Linked DNA regions of Homo sapiens: regions 1, 2, 4, 5, 6 and 7 are each linked to region 3. Evidence: promoter capture Hi-C in human tissues and cell types (Jung and others, 2019). All regions are on one chromosome and are shown on one strand. Each heading gives the region's core, a stretch centred on a gene start or on the middle of the fragment in contact. The rest is flanking DNA. Distances are from core to core; before and after follow the strand shown.

Region 1 (3,374 bases), core at 15-2,514, 840 kb after region 3:
TCTCAACAAAATATCCAGTAAAAAAAACACAATCCTCACATGGAAACTCTAGAACTAATAGCTCCTTAAGTTACTTAACCACCATGCTCAGCCCGTGCTGAAGTGACACCACCATTCATTTAGGAAAGGAATCCTTAGCTGTTAGATGCTTTTAATTCCAACATGAAACTCAAAAGTGCCACCTTTCCTAAAAGGAAGCAAATTGTGTGTGCTTAGCCATTTGAGGGCTCAATTATCATGTTTGCCCCTGCGATTAGGAAATGACTCCCACTAATTGGGTAATTGTGTACCTAAGTGCCCAATTTGTGTGGACAAATTGAAGGCATGATATAAGCAAATCAACCTACATGTAAAATTTTTTGTCCCTGTGAACCTAACTATCACTGAATGTCAATCACAAAAACAGCCAATTGTATCCACGTCTGAGTGAAGGCTTTTAGTCAAAGTGATTTTTGATATCTGAGTCTCATTGATGATATGAAATAATAATATATAGATTATATAACACTTAGTATTAAATATGAATCATGTCATCTTCCTGGCAAAGAAGTCGGCCGAGCTGTGGATTCTTACAAATGGTTAATGATGCCTTCCTCAAAAAAGATGTCAGCTCTTATTGCCAAATAAAGAGGTAACAGTCTCAAAGAAGAGGGTGCTTAATAAAGGGTGAAGGAAATCTAAAAGGTTTTAAGGTTCTGTTTATGGGTTTCAATAGCTGCCATATGCCAGATCCTGTGGTAAGCATCTGACATGCATTATCTCATTGAATCCTACAATTTACCTATGAAGTAGATATGTTATTAGCCTCATTTTACAGATGACAGAGACATTACAGATTTACATTTTACAGATTTACAGAGACATTAAGAGAGCTATCAAGTAGTAGAGTCAGGATTTTAACCCACCTCCTTCTCTCCCACCTCTCACCTCCAATCCATCTTCAAGTTCTGGGGATTCCATCTCCTTAATTTCTTTTAAATCAAGTTATTCTCTCCACCACCACTGTTGCTAGCCTTGGCTCTGGCCATCGCCCTCAACAACAGTTTTCAAGCTGACTTTCCTTCTACTATCTTACATCCAGGGTACTCTTTCTATAATGCAAATCTGAATGCATCTCCTCTCCTGCTAAAATGCTATTTCCCTCATGATGAAGTTCCAATCCCTTTACATTACAATCATGATCTCTCCTACAAAACCTTAGAGAAGACACTAGAACTCTACTCAGGCTTACATCCCCCGCACATCCATGAAACTGCTCTTGCTAACATCTCCAGTGACTCCACAATGCCAGGGCAGTAATGAAATCTCAGTTCTCTTTGCAGTCATGCTTTGAGAATCATTTGACAAAGTTGATCATCCCCTCTTTCTTGGGCTTTTTCTCCACTTTGATTCCTAGATCCTACACTGTCTGATTTCCCCCTTCTTCACTCACTGTTCCTTCTGTCTATCCCAGGATCTGGTCATGGAACCTCTTCTCTATTTATACTTATTCTCTCAATGATCCCATCTAGATCCATGACTTTTAATATCATCTATACAATAAAGACTTTAAAATGTGATTCTCCAGCCCTAACCTCAATTACAAACTTCAGACTCAAAGTTCCAATTACCTAGTTAAGTCTCTACTTGAGCATCCAACAGGCATCTCAAACTTAAGACGGCCCAAAACTGTTGATTTCACCACCTGCTCCCAATCCTGTTTCTTCTGCAGTCAATCTCTAGACAAATAACAACACCATCATTACAGTTGTTTGAGAGTTATCTTTTCCTCCTCTCTTTCTCTCAAGACCCATATACAAGACATCAGCTAGTCCTGTCTGTTCTACCTGCAGAATGTATCTTCGATCAGAGCACTTCTTCCTACATCCAACGCAAGCACTACCAAGCCACCATTGCTTCTTACCCCACTACTGACATAGCTGACATAAACTCCTCCACTTCCCTGCTTTCACCCACACTCCCTACTGCCCATGCTCAATACTACAGAGAGATCTTTTCAAAACATAAATCTGATCTTATCACTTCCCTTCTCCACACTCTCCTCTCCTAGCTCCAGTGCTTTCCCTTCACACTTAGAAAAAGAATCCTAAATCCTCTCCAACTCAGTTCTTTTCCTCCATTCTCCCCCCTTGCATATAGAACTGTAATTATCCTTTAGCCAGCATCCTAAGTATATTTTATATCCTTCTTGGTTACACTAATGTAATTCCATCCTACAATCCACCAGATTTCTCTTCTAATCTGTATTACCCATTAAACAATAATAACTACAGTTACTATTTGTTGAGTGCTGACTGTGTGCTATTTCTCTTGCTTGATCAGCTGCATTCCAGAACTCAGAAAATCTCACCCATATCTGAAATTGCTCCATGTTCGTGCAGCATGATGCTCAAGTTTATTTCTTCTTCTTTTTTTTTATTTTCTTTTTTTTGAGGCAGGGTCTTGCTCTTTCATCCAGGCTGGGGTGCAGTGGTGTGATCATGGCTCACTGCAGCCTCCTGGGCTCAAGCAATCTTCCATCCTACCCTCCCTAGTAGCTGGGACCACTAGGGCACACCACCACATGTGGCTAATTTTTTGTATTTTTTGCAGAGATACGGCTTCACCATGTTGCCCAGGCTGGTCTCCAACTCCTGGGCTCAAGCGGTCTGCCCTCCTCAGCTTCCCAAATTGCTGAGATTACAGGCGTGAGCCACCTCACCAGGCCACAGGTTTATTTTTCTTCAGCCATATGTGGTGTCTGCAGTAGGTAGTGGTCTCATAGCGACAAAAAAAAGCAGACACAGCTGTATTAATTTGGCCTCACTTAGCGCCTACATCTCCTAGGCTCCTGAGGGCATGCTCGTTCCCATCATGTGACCTTTAGTAGAGATCAAAGCCCAGTTTCAAGTTGGTGTCAAACAGATGTTGTTTTACCAAAGCTCCATGCTGCTTCACATCCTGATTTCAAGCAAGTCAGACAGACTGGAATGAGGCTCCCTTGTTGACCTGAGTTTCCCAGTGTGAAAGGAAAATATCTTGGGCCCCCAAAATCCCTAAGGAAAACTCAAGTTGGGAACTGCTACAGGGCAAACCTGCTCCCCATTCTATTCAGAGTCACTCCTCTACTCACTGAGATAGGTGCATATCTGATTTGCCTCCTTTGGAAAGGCTAATCAGAAACTCAAAAGAACATAACCATTTTTGTATCACCTATCTGTGACCTGGAAGCTCCCTCCCTGCTTAGAGTCTTCTTGCCTCTGCTTCAAGTTTTCCCACCTTTCCAGACAGAACCAATGTACTTCTTACATATATTGATTGATGCCTCATGTCTTCCTTCATTTATAAAACCAAGCTGTGCCCCAACCACCTTCAGCACACGTCATCAGGACTTC
Region 2 (3,170 bases), core at 317-2,816, 810 kb before region 3:
TTGTGTGCAAAATCGTGCTTGTGTGTTTGTGCACATACGTGGATTTTCCTGGGGAGAAGTTCCTTTGCTTTCACGACTCTCCTTCAGAGTGTTCCAGGCTTTAGAAAAAAGTAAGAAACACGAAACACTTCAGGTAGTTAGCAGGTGGTAATTGCACATAGTGTCTGGGGCAACACTGGCAATCGTGGTATCATTATTTTTGTTTTTACTGTTCTGCTTGCTGATGTTAAACCAGCTACACTGGCTGTGTTCTTACGCACATCCCTACATGTATTAGCAGTGGGAACCTGGGCAAGTTATTTAAGCTAACTGTGCCTCAGCGTTCTCGTCTATAAAATGGGGCTATCATAGTACCCCTCTGACACAGTTGTGAGGATTAAATGAACTAACAGATGGAAGATACTCAGAAGATACACTATGTAAATTACCACCTGAGCTATCGAAGGGTGTTATATGCTATGTAAATTATACCTTGATAAGAAAAATTGGAAAAAAAATCCAAGAGAGTATCTGGCATCTTAAAGACTGAATAACTGGTAGGTGTGATCATTAACAACACCCTCAAAGGGTACGTTGCTGACGAATCTTCCTGAAAACAACATCTGGGCCTTATTGTTGAACTGCAAATAGGTTGACCTGATTTTCCATCTTACTGAAACCATCCCTCCTGCAGAGGCCCTGAAGTTCCCTTTAGCTGGTATCTACCCCTCAATCCTCCCTCTGGTTAAGAGGACATAAACCAGGCTACTCTTTCTATGAGGCCTGAAAATTGGAAGTGATCACGCAGGATGGTGGTTCTTAGCTGGGGGTGATTGCAACCCCCAGGGGACATTTAGCCATGTCTGGGACATATATGGTTGTCACACCTGGGATGAGGGTCCTTCCGGCATCTGCTAAGTAGAGCCCAGGGATGCTGCTGAACGTCCTGTGGTGGACAGGACAGGTCCTCCCAACAGGACAGCTCCTCCCAACACAGCATTATCTAGTCCCAAACGACAGTACTTGAGAAACCCCAAGACAGAAGGAAGCAGCAGGGCCGTTTTCCAGGAACCGTATTTTGTCTTAGGCTTTTTTTTTAAAACCTCTCGCCTCCTGCATAGGTCAAGGAATGAAACTTAGGAAAAAATGAGCCTAAAGAAAATGATAGATCCCAGGGAGCATTTGTTTGTGTGTGTGCGCATGCATGTGTGTGTGTATGTTTGGGAGCTTTTTCGTGCCATCACTCCTGCAATGAAGATGATGATTTAGGAAGGCAGTAGATGCATAATGATACAGACCTGTGGAATGCACCAGACTAAGTGATCCTGACTCCGTAGCTGCGGAAGTACCGTCACTGCTGCGGAAACCAGCTCACTGGTACTACTTTACTAGATCTTAATCAAAATTCATTCAGTTGATATTTGTTGGTGTTTACAACAGCCTTGTCTCCCTTCACCTCCTTTTTAACAACAAAGTTTCTACTCTTGAGTTAATTTCGTTTGAATATATGGTTATTTGGGAGCTGGAGGTTGCAAGAAAGCGGCTCAGGCTTTATTCCTGCCAATTTCAGGAAGAGCCACATTGGAGCCACCAGGGGGCGCCCTAGTCTTTTCTCTGCCGCTTTCCTTCCGCAGCTGCGGGTGGTGGTTATCTGAATTTTTCATGTCCAGCGCGGTACCCCTTTCAGTGGTGAGGTCGCGAGTGGTGGTGGTGTTGAGAGCAGTGGTCTTTTCTAGTTGAAAAACATCAAGCATGCATGCAGCTTTCTGTTCACCATCAGTATAGCACAGTCATGCATTGCCAGTCACTTTGTGGTCCTGTTCTAAAAGGGAATTTGCAGCTCATCAGAAAACATTTCCCCTGTGTCATTGCTTTTCATGAGATATAATTGATTAGCTGTGGGTATTCAGCTTTTGAATCCCGATTGTTGCCTTCTTGCCCCTTTTTTTGGGGCTGGGGAGTGAAGGTGATAGAGTCAGGTGAGCCCAGACCATCCGGCCCATTTGTTTCCTTTTAATTTGTTAGAGCTTTTGATTGTGAGCCAGGGCAGAGAGGGCAAGAAAAACATCCTTACTTGTCAATAGGCTGTGTTGAGGGGGTCCTTTTTTTTCCTCTTGGCTATTATTGGAAGAGATTCTCAACGCTAGTGAGGCGTTCTGGCTCATCGCCTAGCAACACAATTCCAAACATTCGGCAGCTCCAGAAATGAAGTTGAGGAGTGCTGTAGTAACATCAGAGAGAGATGCGAGGCCCCGCAGCCAGCTGCTTGCTTGGCTAAGGGCTTCATGATAAAATTTTAGGATGAGATGGTGGGGCAGTGGCCGTTAAATCGGCTGCAGTCTGAGCCCCCTGCCCCTTAACTGCCGAGAAGTGAACCTAGGTGACGTGGCCAACACAGATCCCTCACGCTGGGCATCTTTCTTTAAAGGGGAAACTTCCCACTGAATTTTGTGTATTAGCCCTTCAGTGACTGTCTTAGTGTCTTAGTAATTGGAAGGTTCCAGATGGCATTTAGACATGCCTCACTTCTTTATCATCTGTTTATTCATTCACCAAACATTTACCAAACATCTCTCATGTGCTGGGCGCAGTTCTAGGTGCTGAGGAGCCAGAGGTGGGGATCCAGCTTGGCCATGCACAAGCTCTGTGTCACATGTTAAAATTTCCCCATCATTATAATGCAGATTTAAGAGTGCCAGCACCATGGGCTGTTGTGAGGACTAAATGAGTTCATACACAGAGAGTGCTTTGACATTGCGCTCAGCACTCAGGAGATGTTAGCTCTTCTCACATGGGCCCTGCCCACAGAGCATTCTAGTGGAGTTTTATGGTAATAAAGAAATGATGAATGATTGGATGGGGCAAAACGGGAGGCAATGGGGTCATGTGGGAGTGATGTACTCTTTGTTATCTGTGGCACTGAACAACCGCCACTCGATCCACCCATGGGAACGAGTTCCCCGTGAAGTGGGAAATTCCTAATGGAAGTTTTAGGTTATGCAGTACAGCTCCCAACTCCTTACCTGGAAAAAGACCAGTGCTGGATGCTGGTCACTCATATAGACCCTGGATTCCTTGCTCCCAGGAGGGGAAGGAGGAACCGATGACAGCAGGATGAATGTAGCAAGGATAGGGTGGCTGAGGTCCAGAGGGTCACAGGAGGGAAAGGTTAAGGGCTCGGTGCAGGGGAG
Region 3 (3,149 bases), core at 629-3,128:
CATTCTCTCCCTCTGTTGTGTGGGCCTGGTACTATTACCTAAGGGAGAGAGAGTTACATGAAACCAGTCACTCGGTGGTTCAGCAAATATTTCCAGACTGTCTGCTATACGCTGGGCACTGCTCTAAGCTTTCTTGAGGAGCTGCTTTTAGAAAAAGCAAGCTTAGTGAGTATGTTGCAGGCACTGAATAAATGTCAGCTCTCATTAGCTCTCACACACCAGTGCTTGTGTTTGTAGGACTCACAAGGTGGTGGTGGGCGTGGGTTGCCAGTCATGACAGACTTTCCATACTCTCCTATTTTGGGGATTCTATTATAATGAATCTGGTGAATCTGGATTAAACGTGTTCATACCTTCCCCAGATGGGTTTGGAATATAATACTCCTGGGTATGCCCTGTCAATGTCTTGCTGTGTGTTTGCAAATCTTTTTTGAAACATCAAAATGTGACTTTTTTTTTCAAAGAGAAGGGGCGATTAGCCAAACTTCTCATTTGGAGAAAACTTGCAACAGAGTCCCAATAAATCCTCCCACCCTTTCTCAATTCAGGGGACCCTAGTAAACCATTTTACATGTCGCCCAACTTTTCGTTCTCTGAAGATGCCCTGAGAAGCCCTTGACTGCAGCCAAGTGGAGAGGAGGGTTGTGGAAACATTATCTCCTTGCAAATCGCCTAGCAGCCTGCAAAGTGTATACTTAGTTAATGCAATTAAAAAACAAAACGCCGGGGCGTGGGGAGATCTAAATTTGGTGTAGCAGCTTTGGTGCAAATCCTGTTTTGGGGCTACTGGAGTCAAATTCAAGCAGAGGAGAGAAAGAGGTGGGAGAAATGAGAGAGGGCCTCCGGGGAGCTGGAATTCGCTAGGAGAGAGAGGGCAGATTTGGAAACACAGAGGAGACGGGAGGCTGGAAGCTGAGGAAGCAAGGCAGAGCTCTGCAGCCCCCGGTGAGGATTTCCGGGGGGATCCGTGGGGACAGGGGCCAGCCAGCTCCAGAGACCGATGCGCGGGCTCCAGGTCCGGGAGGGTGGCTGAGGCTGGGTGCCCAGGCCTTGCGCTGCGCCAGATCCGGGAGCGCAGAGGCGGCGCCGCGGTGTTCCCTCCTGTGGAGCGCAGAAAACGCTGCGGGGGCGAAGAGGGACAGAAAGCGGCAGGTTCGAGAGGCTGGGGGACTTCCAAGGAAAGACCTTCCAGGACACGCCATAGCCTCGGCCTTGTTCGGCTGTCCCCTCTTACCCCCGACCTTCTTTGATTCGTTCATCCCGAGCCCCTCTCCCCCGGAGGGTGCTTATCCCTGGCTCAGGGGCTTGCCACCTGTCCTTCCCAGCTCCGCCTGGGTCCTTGCTTGGGCCCAGAGAGTTGAGCCATGCGGGTTGCGCTCAGGGCTGGAGGGCGCAGCCGGGAAGGGCAAGGAGGCCCCGCACGCCTGGGAGGGGCGATCCTGACCAGACTGCACCCAGTCTGTCTTGGAGTGAAAGCCATTTAGTCTGTCCCCATCCTCTCCGAGTCATCCTTCCCCTGATGCACAGATTTCGGCCGCCGCTCCTGCACACGCACCGGTGAAAAAGCTACGAGCTGAGCCGCCTCTGCGCTCTGGACAGGGCTGAGCCGCGCCTCCTACCCAGAGAGGGCGCGGGAGGTCCTGCCGCGGTTTTCCACCTGCCTGGAAATCCGAGCGGCTCCTCTAGCCTCGGCTGCTGCCGAGCTCGCTCCTCCCCGTCCGCTCGCCTGGCTCAGCTCTGCACGCCCCCCAGCTAGCTCCCGCTCTAGTCACCTCTTCCCCGCGCCCCCGCCCCTCTAGAGCTCGCGCCCGCCCCCCCCCACCCGCGCCTCCTCTGCCCGCCCTCCTCCCCCTCCCCCTTCCCTCCTGCCCTCCCTTCATTCCACAAGTGTCGCTTCGCTCTCTTCAGCGCACTTGGCGAGCTGGTGAGGTGAGAGGGATACTGCGAGAGGGCTAGGGGCGGCCAGTCCGGGGCTGCCGGCCAAGGCTAGGCGCTGCCAGCCCGATTCTCCTCTGCTCTCCACCCCCGCCTCACCCAGTGGCCGGCCGGACCTGCACCCCGCGCTTGACCCCGCTCATCCTCCCCCCGCCCGGCCGGGCGCGCTCCTCCCCGGCCGGCCCCTCGGCGCGCGGCGCGCTGGAGGCGAACGCGGGCTGAGGCGAACGCGGGCTGAGCCGAGCGCAGTGGCCGCCGACCACCGAGCGCCCCGCGCCGCTCCCTGCATGTGCGGCCCGCGGCGGCTCGCAGCTCCCGGCAGCAGCCTCGGCAGCTTCGGCCGCGCCTCGAGAGGCGGCCGCAGAGGCTCCAGCGGCGGCCGAGCGGCCGAGCCCGGGCTGGGAGACACCATGCGCCGCGTCCTTCGGCTGCTCCTCGGTTGCTTCCTCACCGAGCTGTGCGCCCGCGTGTGCCGGGCGCAGGAGCGAGCGGGACACGGGCAGCTGGCGCAACTGGGCGGCGTGTTGCTGCTGGCGGGGGGCAACCGCTCCGGGGCCGCCTCCGGAGAGGCCAGCGAGGGCGCTGAGGCATCGGACGCGCCCCCGACCCGGGCGCCCACGCCGGACTTCTGCCGGGGCTACTTCGATGTCATGGGCCAGTGGGACCCGCCGTTCAACTGCAGCTCGGGCGACTTCATCTTCTGCTGCGGGACTTGTGGCTTCCGGTTCTGCTGCACGTTTAAGAAGCGGCGACTGAACCAAAGCACCTGCACCAACTACGACACGCCGCTCTGGCTCAACACCGGCAAGCCCCCCGCCCGCAAGGACGACCCCTTGCACGACCCCACCAAGGACAAGACCAACCTGATCGTCTACATCATCTGCGGGGTGGTGGCCGTCATGGTGCTCGTGGGCATCTTCACCAAGCTGGGGCTGGAGAAAGCGCACCGGCCCCAAAGGGAGCACATGTCCAGGTGGGCTGCCTCCCCTTCGCCCTCCCCTCGGGGCTTCGCTCTCCCTGCTCTCTCCTCCCCACCTTCCCCCAGGCAATGGCGCTCCCCACGGTCCCCGCTCCCCGCATCCCAGCCTCTCCGCTGGGGGATGTCACCGGGAAGCCAACTTCGGCTTGGAACACGGAGAAGGGGCGCTGGGCTCAGCACAGGTGTGGGTCTGAGCGTGTTCGTGTGTGTGTGAGCGTGTGTGTGTGTGTGTGTG
Region 4 (3,580 bases), core at 1,002-3,501, 740 kb after region 3:
CACCTAGATACTAGTAGCAGAGTCGGCAGTTAATGTCATCGGGATTGTGTCTATTTCTGCAATTTACAATATGGACAGAGAAGTCTCAAGGTAGGAGGTTAAAGACAGGGGTTTGAGGTTTGATTCTATCCATCCCTCACCATGTGACCTTGAGCAGTTCACTCAATTGTTCTGAGCCTCTGTTTCCTCCTCTGAAACAAAAGCTAAATAAAATTCACCGAAATTCCAGCATTTTGGGAGGAATTATATGACAATTCTTGTTTGTAAGGGACATAAACCCAATTAAAATGATTCCAGCAAGAGATGGAGACGAAATTCATCTTGAGGGGCAGACAGTACCTGTACAAATTATTTCAAGGGCACACGGAACAGCTGGGCTAGACTGCCCAGGATTTTAAGGAAGCATATATAAGGGTGCTTATCCCAATCTTGGGTGAGGGAGTATTTCCCAAGTTGAATGTTAGAGAATGAAAATTAATCAGACAATAAGGAGTGGGAAGAGTGTTGTGGAATAAAGGAAGAACAGAGAGGTGAGGAATGGCATGAAGCACACACATGAATGTGCATGTGTGGGCATGCCTGTGTGCGTGCCTGTGTGTGCATGGCTGTGTGTGCATGCCTATGCATGTGCCTATGTGTGCATGCCTCTGTGTGCATGGCTGTGCGTGAATACCTGTGTGTGCACGGCTATGTGTGCATGCCTGTGTGTGCATGCCTGTGTGTGCATGCCTGTGTGCATGACTCTGTGTGCATGGCTGTGTGTGCATGGCTGTGTGTGCATACCTGTGTGTGCATGACTGTATGTGCATGGCAGTGTGTGCATGCTTGTGTGTGTGTGCCTGTGTGTGCATGCCTGTGGGGAGGGCAGTGAGAGGGTTGCCAGGCAAGCAGCTCAACAATACCAATACATAAGGAGAAGGTGGTTGATGAGGCTGGACCCGTGGGCAGGGACCACCTCATCATGCAAGGGAGTTTCCATGCCAAGCTAAGACACATAAATTGACTTTGTAATACCCCTGTTCACTGCACAAGAAGGAGGAAAAATTTCCCCTTAGCGGAATTTAAGCCAGTACAGCACATAAATGAACAAAAGCTTCTGTCATTCTCCTCTTCTATGCTTAAGGCTCCAACAATTTTCCTTCAATTTCACTCTCCCCTTCTTTTACTGTATCCTTCTTCAGCAGGAAAGTACCTTTTTTATATACTTTATTGGATTTTTATTCCAAGCTACAAAATGCCTGCTTGTGGCAACAAGTCAAAAACAGAGGTTTACAAAGAAAAAGGCAAGTTTCTCCCTCCTTGCTCAATCCCTGACACTCATTCACCAAAGAAACAAGGCTGTTATGTGTGATCTTTCTCTATGTTTATACAACTATATGAAAACACATATGGTCATATAAATAAAGGGTTTTTTCCCTACTTTTTTTAAAAAATGGACTATACTGGTCTCATTACAGTATACAACTTGCCCAGGTTAAATATAATGCAACTTGCTCAGATTATAGGTTGTAACTATTAATAATTACTATAAAAGCGGTAAAATATTCCACAGAATGAGAAAATGTCTCCATTCAACTATCTTGATTGGGGAAAAACATAGGGTTTGCTTGTTGCTTTTCTTAGCCATTCTCAATAATATTGCAATAAACATGCTAGTACTAGTACTCTTGCTTATTTTATTTTTATTTATTTATTTATTTTTTCTTTTGAGAGGGAGTCTCAGTCACCCAGGCCAGAGGGCAGTGGCATGATCATAGCTTACTGCAGCCTAGAACTCCTGGGCTAAAGTGATGCTCCTGCCTCAGCCTCCTGAGTAGCTGCAATTACAGGTGTGAGCCATTGTGCCTGGCTCGAGAACCTAGTTTTAAGCATGTCACCTGACTACTCAGGAAAGCAACCCCCTATGCCAGAAGAGTCACAGAGAAAAGTGGTCCTGAAACTATACTAACTCAAAGCCATTCCCTGTTTTTGTTTGTTTGTTTGTTTTTGTTTTTTGATGGAGTCTCACCCTGTTGCCCAGGCTGGAGTGCAGTGGTGCTATCTCTGCTCACTGCAACCTGTGCCTCCCGGGTTCAAGCGATTCGCCTGCCTCAGCCTCCCAAGTAGCTGGGATTACAGCCACTGGCCACCACGCCCGGCTAATTTTTATATTTTTAGTAGAGATGGGGCTTCACCATGTTGGCCAGGCTGGTCTCAAGCTCCTGACCTCAGGTAATCCACCTGTCTTGGCCTCCCAAAGTGTGAGCCACCATGCCTGGCCACATTCCCTGTTTTCTGCCCTTCTCCATCTCACTGAATAAGCCATAAACTCTCCCACCTCAGATCTGCTCAAACATTCTCCTCTTCCTAGGTTGCCATTCTTCTCCCAACCCAAATGCACATGTCACGCTTAGTTCAAGACAAAGCTCAGATTCCACGTTTTCTAAGAAGGCTCCCAAATCTCTCTATGGCAATTAATCTCTTCTTCCACCATCGCTTGAACAACAATAAGAACAACTTCAACAGTTATCACTGTGATGTGCTGGGCATCGTGTTAACGCACATTAAATGCATTATTTTATTTTCTCTTCAATAACCTGATTTAGGTAGGTGATATTGTTATATATATTTTGAAGGTAAGGAAACTAAGTCTCAGAAAGGTTAAGTCACTAGTCCAAGGACACACAGCTAATACGTGTTGCAGCTGGGCTTTACATTCAAGTCCAGTCATCATTCAATGCTGCATAATAAAAGAAAAATTCCATTGAGCAAGCTTCTAGTTTAATGGCAAACAGGTTGAGCCATTGCTTTGTAAACACTGCCTGCCATAGATGAATTTGTTTTCTACATTTTTTAAGCGGTCTTATCTCCCAGTGAATCTTATGAATGGAGCAAAGTTGTCAGGTTCTACAGTAAATGGCATGCGATGTGATGTTGCCAGAATTCAAGCTTTCTTCTGCTAATTTTTCACTGGGTTGCAAGCTTTAATTTAACTGTCAGACCCTGGGTCTTTTGCCAGCACTAATGGAGGATTGTGGCAGTGATGGTAATTATTTCTAGACTTGGTACCTCCTTCGTTTACCTTCTGGTCGCAAATATTCAGCAGCTTCAAGCTAATTTCCTTCCTGATTTTCTTCATCAGTTTGCAAACTCCCACTGCCAACAAAAACAATGCATCTGATAAAAACGTCAACATGGAGTGTTCGAAATATTAAAACTGTCAAATAAAAATTGTGTTTTTACAAGGCAGTCCAAATATGTCACACATGTGGAAATCATTTTTCAAAGACAGATTGTATAGGTCAAAGAGTTGTTGGGCTATTTTTTTTTTAACCCACAAAAACAAACCCAACCATGACAGTTTCTTGTATATTGGTTTGATATCTTGAAAATCAGCTTCCAATCTACTCTGGACAAATTTGATAAAAAACACTGGCATCAGATGTCCTTTCCTCAGATGAAGACCACAGGCTTTCCCCTCTCTGTGGAATTAATAGAAGAATTACCTGAAAGAAGATACTATGATTTAGCTTGCTGTTTATATTTCATTCTTCCCACCATTAAACAATGTAGACAGAACATGGGGCCTGTCAACCAATGC
Region 5 (3,500 bases), core at 851-3,350, 1.0 Mb after region 3:
ACTTGTTCTTTGTTTTAGAAAACCTGTGATTGTTTGGGAGTGTTTTAAATGATTAAGAAGCAGAGATGTGTCCGATAGCAAATGAAGCAACAACAGCTTCATATTTTATTGTGAACTGGACATGACTTAGAGGTCAGACTGAGCTTCTAATCAAAACATGAAATAGGGAGAGAACTTGCAAATCATATTAATTATTAATACTGGAGTGCCTAAGGTTATGAATTCTTCAAGCATTTCAGAAAATCTGCAGGAATTTTTCAGATAACACTGGGACGCTGTATATTTTTATTTTATTCTCCCTCCTGTCCTTTTAAAGAAATATTTAATGTAGTCCCAGGGTCAAGATCTTCTAAAGGAAGTAAAATGAATTTGAGTTGTTACTTTATAAACTGCTGCAGGAAACAACAAATAATATAAGCAATTTGTTTTTAAGTAACTGACAATGGAATGGTAATTTCCTACCCGTGGCTTTACTCGATGCTGGGTCACTGAACACTGCTACACTGGCATCATGGTTAACTTTGACTATTCAAGGTCAATAAATGAGCACACTTCTTTAGTGAGACCCTATTTTCTATTCCCCTTCATGGCATAATTCTCAAATCAATGATTAAAAAACTCCAGATTTTGCTTTTATATATATCAGCTTTGTGGTAGCATTTTTAAAAGAAAAAAAAAGCAGAGAAGGAAGAAAAAAGTTTGAATCAGTGCTATAGGAATTTTCTCAAGAAGAAAGAAAAAAAAATTCTCTTTCCAAGGGGATGCATGAGGTTCTCTTCGCTTCGTCTGTCTCCTTTTTTAATAACTGCATCAGCTTGATGTCTAGGATAGGAAATCGTTAACATGTTTCAGATGAGGGCATTAAGACCAAAATACTCACATGAAGTCAGATGGGATGGAATGGGGTGAAAATCAGACTCTGCCAGGCTGCAAATGCCATGCCCTTTCCAGGCTCAGGGTAAGAAATGTCCTTTTACTACACTCCTTTGTGCCTGGTTCAGTAATGCTCAAAACATGGGAGAGAGGGAGGAATAAAAGGAAAGTCATTTCAGAGGTTAATTTCATTTTTACACTTCAGAAAGTGAAATGAGGAGATTTGACAAGTACCTAATTAATTTGATCTGGGTAAACAGCTCAAATGGATCTTTTTCATCTAAAAATAACTCCACTATGGGACTTGGCTTAATACAATCGTTCTCAAAATGTGGTCCCCAGACCAGAGTTAGCAGCAGCACCAGCACCTAGGAGAACTTGTTAGAAATGCAAATTCCACACTGGGCAGGGTGGCTCACGCCTGTAATCCCAACACATTGGGAGGCCAAGGTGGGTGGATCACTTGAGGTCAGGAGTTTGAGACTAGTCTGGCCAAAATTGTTGTAAAAATACAACAATTTTGTATTTTTAGTAGAGACTGTGAAACCCCACCTCTACTAAAAATACAAAAATTAGCTGGGCATGGTGGCAGGTGCTGTAGTCCCAGCCACTCCGGAGGCTGACGCATGAGAATTGCTTGATCTGGGAGGCAGAAGTTGCAGTGAGCCGATATCATGCCACTGCACTCCAGCCTGGGCAACAAAATGAGACTCCGTCTCAAAAAAAAAAAAAAAAAAAAAAAAAAAAAAAAAAAAAAAAAGAGAATAAAGCAGATCACAATGCTTGGATACATACAAGTTCTCCCATCACATTTTTATTCCCAGAGTCAGTTTGCTGTGCATCCCTACTCAAGGCGCTGCTATGGCCTGGGTTCACCCATTGATGTGCACCATTTTGTTAAAATAAATCATCTTATTTTATGCATTAAATGCAGCATGTGTGTTATTACCCTCACCTAAGTTTGCGTGGCCTCTCAAACGACCACCGAATCAGGTGGCACTGATCCTACAGCTGCTACCAAGATCCTGGCTGTGGGCCAGGAGTGCTGGCTCACGCCTCTAACCCCAGCACTTTGGGAGGCCAAGTCGGGCGGATCACTTGAGGCTAGGAGTTCGAGACCAGCCTGGGCAACATCGTGAAACCCTGTTTCTACTTAAAAAATATAAAAATTAGCCAGGCGTGGTGACGTGAGCGCCTGTAATCCCAGCTACTGTAGGCTGAGGCAGGTGAATCACTTGAACCCAGGAGGTGGAGGTTGCAGGGAGCCAAAATCACACCACTGCGCTACAGTCTGGATAACAAAGCGAGACGCTGTCTCAAAAAAAAAAAAAAAGATAAAAGATCCCGGCTGTGGCAGCGAGTGTTGTACCCTATTAGGGTAATGACAGCTTGCAGCTATCTTCAGAGCTACTATAAATGCCTCTTATTGATATTACTAGCTTAATGCTGAAGCTTAATTCCCTCTTAATAAAAACACTGCAGTTTTTCACATTAATTACAACAGTGAGTAATGGTTACTATTTGCCTATAAACATTCCACACTTTTAAATAACACAAGATGTCTCCACAACAGTTACGAATTACATTTATCAGCTAGTGACAAATCCCAAAAAGATAACAGTGGCTTCAACAAATTAGAGGTTTATTTTTCTCACATATGAAAGAAGTCCAGAAGTAGACAAGCCAAGGCTAGAGGTAGATGTATATCACAAAAATTAAGTTTCTGCAGTCTTTCTACTCTGCTATTCTTTCTCTTTTTTTTTCTTTTTCTTTTTTTTTTTTTTTTTTTGAGACAGAGTCTCGTTCTGTCACCCAGGCTGGAGTGCAGTGGCGTGATCTCGGTTCGCTGCAAGCTCCGCCTCCTGGGTTCACACCATTCTCCCGCCTCAGCCTCCCGAGTAGCTGGGACTACAGGCACCCCCCACCACGCCTGGCTAATTTTTTGTATTTTTAGTAGAGATGGGGTTTCACCCCGTTAGCCAGGATGGTCTCGATCTCCTGACCTCGTGATCCGCCCGCCTCAGCCTCCCAAAGTGCTGGGATTACAGGTGTAAGCCACCACTCCCAGCCTCTTTTTTTTTTTTTTTTTTTTTTTTTGAGATAGAGTCTCACTCCGTGGTCCTAGCTGGAGTGCAGTAGCATGATCTCAGCTAACTTCAACCTCCATCTCCTGGGGTCAAGTGATTCCCCTACCTCAGCCTCCCAAGTAGCTGGGATTCAAGTGATTCTCCTGCCTCAGCCTCCCGAGTAGCTGGGACTACAGGTGCATGCCACCACATGCAGCTAATTTTTTGTATTTTTTTTAGTAGAGACGAGGTTTCACCGTGTTAGCCAGGATTGTCTTGATCTCCTGACCTCGTGATCTGCCCACCTCGGCCTCCCAAAGTGCTGGGATTACAGGCGTGAGTCACTGTGCCCGGCTTAATTTTCATATTTTTAGTAGAGACAGGGTTTCATCATGTTGGCCAGGCTGGTCTCGAACTCCTGACCTCAGGTGATCCGCCCACCTCTGCCTCCCAAAGTGCCAGGATTACAGGGGTGAGCCACCATGCCCTGCCCTACTCTGCTATTCTTAAAATATGGCTTCCATCTTCAATGTTGTCTCATGGTCACAAAATAGATGCTGG
Region 6 (3,193 bases), core at 575-3,074, 730 kb after region 3:
ATTTTTAATAGAGATGGGGTTTCACCATGTTGGCCAGGCTGGTCTTAAACTCCTGACCTCAGGTGATCCACCCGCCTCGGCCTCGCAAAGTGCTGGGATTACAGGCATGAGGCACCATGCCCGGCCTGTCTTTTGTTTTTAAAAATTTTTTAATAATAGTTATTTTTACAGGTTTTAGGTCATATCTCATTGTGGTTTTGATTTCCATTTCCCTGATGACTAGTGGCTTGGAGCATTTTTTCATATACTTGTTGGCTACTTTTATGTTTTCTTTGGAGAAATGTCTATTCAGGTCTCTAGACCATTTTAAACGGGATGATTAATTTTTTATTTCTTGCTATGGAGTGTAGGAGCTCCTTATAGATTTCAGAAGTCAACCGTTTATCAGATATATGTTTTGCAGATATTTTCTCACTTTCCTGAAGTTGTTTTTTCTACTCTGTGGAAATTTCCTTTGCTGTACAGAAGTTTTTTAGTTTGTTGTAGACTTATTTGTCTATTTTTGCTTTTGTTGCCTATGCTATTGTTGTCAAATCCACAAAATCATTGCCAAGATCAATGTCATGAAGCTTTTCCCCCACTTATTCTTTCAGGAGTTTCTTCCAAAAGAATTGAAATCAGGATCTTGAAGCGATGTTAGCACTCTCGTGTTTATTGCAGCACTATTCACAATAGCCAAAATGAAGACAGACAAGCTAAGTGTCCATCAGCAGATGAATGGATACAGAACAATGAAATATTACTCAGCCTTCAAAGGCAAAGAAATTCTGCAATATGTAACACCATGAACTGAACCTTGAGGACATTATGCTAAGTGAAATAAGCCAGTCACAGAAGGACACATACTGCAAGATCTTATATATATGAAATATTTAAAACAGTGGCCGAGCGTGGTGGCTCACACCTCTAATCCCAGCACTTCGAGAGGCAGAGGGGGTAGGATCACCTGAGATCAGGAGTCTAAGACCAGTCTGGCCAACATGGCAAAACCCCATCTCTACTAAAAATACAAAAATTACTCGAGCGTGATGGCACGTGCCTGTAATCCCAGCTACTCAGGAGGCTGAAGCAGGAGAATCGCTTGAACCCTGTAGGCGCAGAGGCTGCGGTAAGCCAAGATCACACCATTGCACTCCAGCCTGGGCAACAGAGTGAGACTCTGTCTCAAAATTTTAAAAATAATGATAATAATAATAATAAAATAAAATAGTAAAATCACTGAGTTAAAAAGTGGAATGGTGGCTGCTAGGGGATGAGGGAAAGGGAAATGGAGAGTTGTTCATAAGCAATCGTAAAGTTTCAGTTAAGCGGAATGAATACGTTCTAGAGATCTGCTGTACGACACCGTACACAACCAACAATCCTGTGTGCTTCGACATTTTTTAAGAGATCTCATGTTGAGTGCTCTTATCACAGTAAAATATTTTTTTTAAAAGCGTGTTGCTAAATAAATAAATCATGATACTATTTACATGTACACACATGCAGGCACACACATTTCAACACATTTTCTATTCTACATATTTTCGATTGGCAAGTGTTTTTACAAATACAAAGAATCGGCCGGGCATGGTGGCTCATGCCTGTAATCTCAGCACTTTGGGAGGCCGAGGCAGGCGGATCACCTGAGGTCAGGAGTTCGAGACCAGCCTGGCTAACATGGCGAAACCCCATCTCTCTTACTAAAAATACAAAAATTAGTCAGGCATGGTGGCACGTGCGTGTAATCCCAGCTCCTCTGGAGGCTGAGGCAGGAGAATTGCTTGAACCCAGGAGGCGGAGGTTGCAGTGAGCCAAGATTGTGCCTTTGCACTCCAGCCTGGGTGACAAGAGTTAGACTCTGCTAAAAAAAAAAAAAAAAGAAAAAAAAAAAAAAGAATCACGTCTGGAAGTTCACATACACAAGTGCTGCCTTTGGAGAAGTGGAGAAAGAAATAGTATTTTAAGGATAAGAAGGCTGTCAAAGGGATTTTTAACCACATCCATAAGGGTTTTACTTTTAATAACGAGAGTATGCATTATTTATGTAAACAAAAAGTAATCATTTTTAAAAGAAATTTGTTTGCATGGAGGAGAAACTCGAAGGTGGAAGCTTAATTGGAAACTATTGTAATTGTCTAGGTTTGAGGCCATGGGTAGCAATGTTAGAGATGGAAATGACAAAGAAAATTACAGTGTATGAGTCAACAGAATGTAGCGTAGCAGAAAAGAGAGGCCACAGACTGAGATTCAAGGGAGAGAGTGAGTTCAGCTTTATAAACCAAAGTCCTGAGGACCGCTATTATGTAAACCTCTATTGCTTGCATGTGGATTGCTTTCTCTCGCATAATAATGACCAATTAGATCAGTTAATTTTGTCGATTAATTAGTTACTTGGTCCACAGCTGTGTTAACAGCTTTATGAAACAACCACAAAGAAACCCCCAGACAGCTGATTTGATATTGAGTAGCTACAAGCTTGGTCTTGTTTAATAAGAAATAGACCAAATGAGGCTAGAAGGTATTTATCAGTGCATTGAGTCTGATACACTAAATGGTTCACTACTGATCCAGGGAATTTATTTTTATGCCATCAAAAGAGAGTAGTTCAAACCTTGGGTGACTTGGATTTAAGCATTTCTGGTCAGTACAGAGCCTAAATGCATATTTCACTTGCATCCAAGCAAAATGACATTTATAATATCCTTTTCAAGGCCCACAGATAGCCCCTTTTCTTTCTGACAGCAGATCCATTTAAAAATACAGTTACTGAATCAAGTTTCATATTAATTCCATTGGCAGTCTTCTATTGGCAATACTAAATATAGTTCACTTCAAATAATGTAAGATGCAAGATGATTAACCTATTGAAGCAGAGTTCTTAATGTTGGGCAAATGAGGGTGGTAGCCCATGGATGGACCTCACAGATCTAAGCACATTCTGAAATATGATGAGGCAAAATTCTCTGAAGTTTTGTTTCTTAATTTGTCAGGGAGCACAAGTCCATGGTTTAAATGAGTTTTTTTAAAAAAAAATTTTTTTAGGAACTGCTACAGTTTTTTTTTTCTACACAATAGGTCATTGTAGCTAATTGAATTGTTCTAAGTGGACTACGAATTGCTGATTCTGACATACAAAATTATAAAATTGAAGTTATTCATAGTAAGTCAATCCTTTAAGGAGCCTATGACATGTGAACGAATCAGTTTTTAA
Region 7 (3,254 bases), core at 66-2,565, 790 kb after region 3:
TAATGAGTATCTTATTCAACACCTTCACTGAGCAGTGTTGGATAAAGTAGTTGACATTTGCCCATCACTTTCACCTCTTCCAAAGAGGGAGAGAAAGGAAACACACCTGAGTTATTTTTAATTTCTACAAGGTACCAAAACACCTGACCTTCACTACTAATCCTCAGACAATGAAAGTCTTATTCCAAGCCTTTCAACAGTACCTTCATTCTAAGCTGGACACCGGACAATGTAAAATACTATGTCTTATTGGTATCTATTAACAGACATTTTATTTTATTTTTTTGGTGTTATGTTTATTATTTTTATTTTTTATTTTAGTTTTTGTGGGGGACAGTAGGTATATATATTTATAGGGTACACTGGCTGTTCTGATACAGGCATGCAATGCATAATAATCACATCATGGAAAATGGAGTCCCCCTTCCCTCAAGCATTCATCTTTTGTGTTACTAACAATCCAATTATACTCTTTTAGTTAGGATCAGGAAAAATAACTAATGAGTACTAGGTTTAATACATGGATGATGAAATAATCTATACAACAAACCCCCATGAAACAAGTTTACCTATGTAACAAACCTGCACTTGTACTCCTGAATTTAAAATAAAAGTTAAAAAAAAAAAAAGAGGCCGGGCGCAGCGGCTCACACCTGTAATCTCAGCACTGTGGGAGGCCAAGTCAGGTGGATCACAAGGTCAAGAGATCGAGACCATCCTTGTCAACATGGTGAAACCCCGTCTCAACTAAAAATAGAAAAATTAGCTGGGCATGGTGGTGTGCGCCTGTAGTCCCAGCTACTCAGGAGGCTGAGGCAGGAGAATCGCTTGAACCTGGGAGGTGGAGGTTGCAGTGAGCCAAGATTGTGCCACTGTACTCCAGCCTGGCAGCAGAGTGAGTCTCCGTCAAAAAATTAAAAAACACCAGGATGATTAAAAAAATGAAAGAAAATGCAGTACTTATACACAATAGAGGACTACTCAACAGACATTTTAATCTAATTCTAGGTGTTAGTTGTCTCTGGTGAAACATGCTTATCTAAGAAATGGCAGACATCTAAGTTCCATCCACATGGTTTCATATACAATGAAACAGGAATTACAAAGCCACATTAAATTTTGGGCCAAGTTTTTTACTCATGGAATCTGGCCATGGGGCATCTGTCCTTTGAAATTTAAAAAAAAAAAAAGAAAAAAGAAAAAAAAAAGAACCTAGGGAGACTCTGCTTGTGGAAGCACCAACACCCTTACCCTAACTGAGCTCCATGTTGGTACCTGCTGTGTGTGAATCATGGCTACCCAGGCTTCCCCAAGGGAGAAGCCAAGCTTCTGTCTTTAGCTTCTGAAGCAGCTTTTCATCTTGTAAGAATGTCAACTGTTCATTTTGCAACACAACCAAGCAGGGACTGTTTCAGACCTTTGCTCCATTAAACCATGACTTAGAAAAGACAATTAAATTTCCACAGATAAAGATACAGATATACAAATGTACCGTCGCGGCGGCTTTTAAACCCAAATCTAGTTTAGGCTGGTTTATTTTAAAGCCACAGAATTTTATTAGGCTTTACATTAAATCAATAAAGAAAGTTTGGACCAAAGTTTGGAGAGCTTTGGATATAGTCAATGGATTCCTCAGAAACCTACGAAGTGCTCTGAAATTGCTCTGAAATTGGCTTGGGATTTCTGCCGTGCTCAGATGAAGTGACAAGAGTTTCAGCCAAAGCTCCCCAACTTATACCCATCACTGGTTGTACTCCACAGGGTCATATAGGAAAAACGTATGATTTTTCTCTTGGAATGTGCTATTTCCAGGTCCTGTTATTGGTCTTCCAGGTGAACTCTTATAGGACATGAGATCCTACGTGTTAGTTTTAGTAATTTATCTTCTAGACTATTTCAACTATTTAAAGTGGTTTATATACATGTGCATAGTAAAGCCATAAAAGGAAAATTAACTGCAAAAAAATCAAGGTGAATATACTGTGGTTTATAGAAACAGTGCTATGCTCTACAGCCATTAAAAATGATGACACAGCCCTCTATATTTTGATATAGAATATTCTCCAACTTTCCTCATTCAGTCACGAGAACAACATGCAGAGCATAATGCTATAATTTGGTTTACAAAAAGGAAGAGAAAAATACATATAGACTACCCTTGAAAGGATATACAAGAAATGCTTAAGAGTGACTGTCTCTGGGGAAGAAAATTGGAGACGGATTGCACACCTTTTTAGTTGTCTTTTTAACCACATGCATTTCTTACTAATAAAATAAATACATAAATATACACGAACTAAGTCTCTTCCAGGCTGGGCACGGTGGCTTATGCCTGTAATCCCAGCACTTTGGGAGGCAGAGGTGGGAGGATAGCTTGACCCCAGGAGTTCCAGCCTGGGCAACATGGCGAGACCCCATCTCTAATAAGAAAAAGAAATTCTCTTCCAATTCAAGGCAAGGTAAATAAAGCCCTTGCCATTGACACTGTTGTTACCCCACTCAGATCTTTAACAGGCCAGTGTGCCCATATGTGTCATGAGTACTGGCTGCTGAAGGCTCACAGTTGACCCCTGTGGTTTCCCTTGCCTCAAGGTGGGATTAACTGTGATGCAGCATAGGTTCCAGAGTTCACCTTGAGATCAGGTGGAAGCCAGTCTCCAGCTGACCCACCCTGGCTGAGTTCTTTTCCCCTGCGCTTTCACTCCCCTTCTCCTAAGAGCATTCTCAATAAACCACTTAAAAAAGAACTCTCATCTTAAGCTCTGGTTCTAGGGAATCTGGTCAAAAACAGTATTACAGAGATAAAGGTAAAGGTTTACAAAATATTAAGGCTCTAAAAACAAATATATGCTGTCTCCACATTATAGTCAATAATAATTGTTTTTTCTTAAGGTAAAAATGCCTCCCATCCTTAAAAACTTTTTGGAGAAAACCTAGAAGAAATACATAAATTTGTGGAAACACATAATCTCACAAAATTGAACCAGGAAGAAATTGAAACCCTAAACAGACCAATAACAAGTTCCAAAATTGAATCAGTAATAAAAACCCTACCAATCATAACAAGCCCCGACCTAGACAGATTTGCAGACAAATTGTACCAGACATAGAATGAAGAACTAGCTAGTACCAATCCTACTGAAATTATTTCAAAAAATTGAGGAGGAGGGACTCTTTTCTAACTTATTATATATGTCAAAATATGGCAGAGACAAAATGAAGAAAGAAAACTTTAGGCCAGTATCCCTGATGAA

Evidence for each region. Contacts are between HindIII fragments. The study calls those that stand out against the background at their distance.
Region 1: a fragment that was not itself captured here is called in contact with the fragment with the promoter of SHISA9 in region 3 in 5 of the 25 tissues and cell types used here (H1 embryonic stem cells, bladder, dorsolateral prefrontal cortex and 2 more).
Region 2: a fragment that was not itself captured here is called in contact with the fragment with the promoter of SHISA9 in region 3 in 1 of the 25 tissues and cell types used here (dorsolateral prefrontal cortex).
Region 4: a fragment that was not itself captured here is called in contact with the fragment with the promoter of SHISA9 in region 3 in 6 of the 25 tissues and cell types used here (aorta, dorsolateral prefrontal cortex, heart left ventricle and 3 more).
Region 5: a contact is called between a fragment that was not itself captured here and the fragment with the promoter of SHISA9 in region 3, in 4 of the 25 tissues and cell types used here (dorsolateral prefrontal cortex, lymphoblastoid cells, mesendoderm cells and 1 more).
Region 6: a contact is called between a fragment that was not itself captured here and the fragment with the promoter of SHISA9 in region 3, in 2 of the 25 tissues and cell types used here (dorsolateral prefrontal cortex and mesendoderm cells).
Region 7: a fragment that was not itself captured here is called in contact with the fragment with the promoter of SHISA9 in region 3 in 2 of the 25 tissues and cell types used here (dorsolateral prefrontal cortex and lymphoblastoid cells).

What each region holds. Positions count from the first base shown.
Region 1 is chr16:13,736,451-13,739,824 of GRCh38, forward strand. No RefSeq gene overlaps it. Among named protein-coding and RNA genes, the nearest start is that of ERCC4, 180 kb to the right of the region's middle. The HindIII fragment of the contact is 8,935 bases long and covers 1-3,374 here.
Region 2 is chr16:12,093,794-12,096,963 of GRCh38, forward strand. The region is part of intron 11 of SNX29 (sorting nexin 29); the gene reads left to right. Among named protein-coding and RNA genes, the nearest start is that of SNX29, 120 kb to the left of the region's middle. RefSeq lists an enhancer at 2,897-3,170. The HindIII fragment of the contact is 9,110 bases long and covers 1-3,170 here.
Region 3 is chr16:12,899,720-12,902,868 of GRCh38, forward strand. SHISA9 (shisa family member 9) reads left to right here and starts at 1,879. Exons shown (of 5, transcript NM_001145204.3): 1 at 1,879-2,908. The coding sequence starts at 2,346. The HindIII fragment of the contact is 6,671 bases long and covers 1-3,149 here.
Region 4 is chr16:13,642,885-13,646,464 of GRCh38, forward strand. No RefSeq gene overlaps it. Among named protein-coding and RNA genes, the nearest start is that of ERCC4, 280 kb to the right of the region's middle. The HindIII fragment of the contact is 4,069 bases long and covers 218-3,580 here.
Region 5 is chr16:13,897,515-13,901,014 of GRCh38, forward strand. LOC105371093 (a long non-coding RNA gene) reads right to left here. Exons shown (of 4, transcript XR_007065000.1): 3 at 881-1,006. Among named protein-coding and RNA genes, the nearest start is that of ERCC4, 21 kb to the right of the region's middle. The HindIII fragment of the contact is 8,964 bases long and covers 1-3,500 here.
Region 6 is chr16:13,626,006-13,629,198 of GRCh38, forward strand. No RefSeq gene overlaps it. Among named protein-coding and RNA genes, the nearest start is that of ERCC4, 290 kb to the right of the region's middle. The HindIII fragment of the contact is 3,717 bases long and covers 1-3,193 here.
Region 7 is chr16:13,688,110-13,691,363 of GRCh38, forward strand. No RefSeq gene overlaps it. Among named protein-coding and RNA genes, the nearest start is that of ERCC4, 230 kb to the right of the region's middle. The HindIII fragment of the contact is 5,935 bases long and covers 1-3,254 here.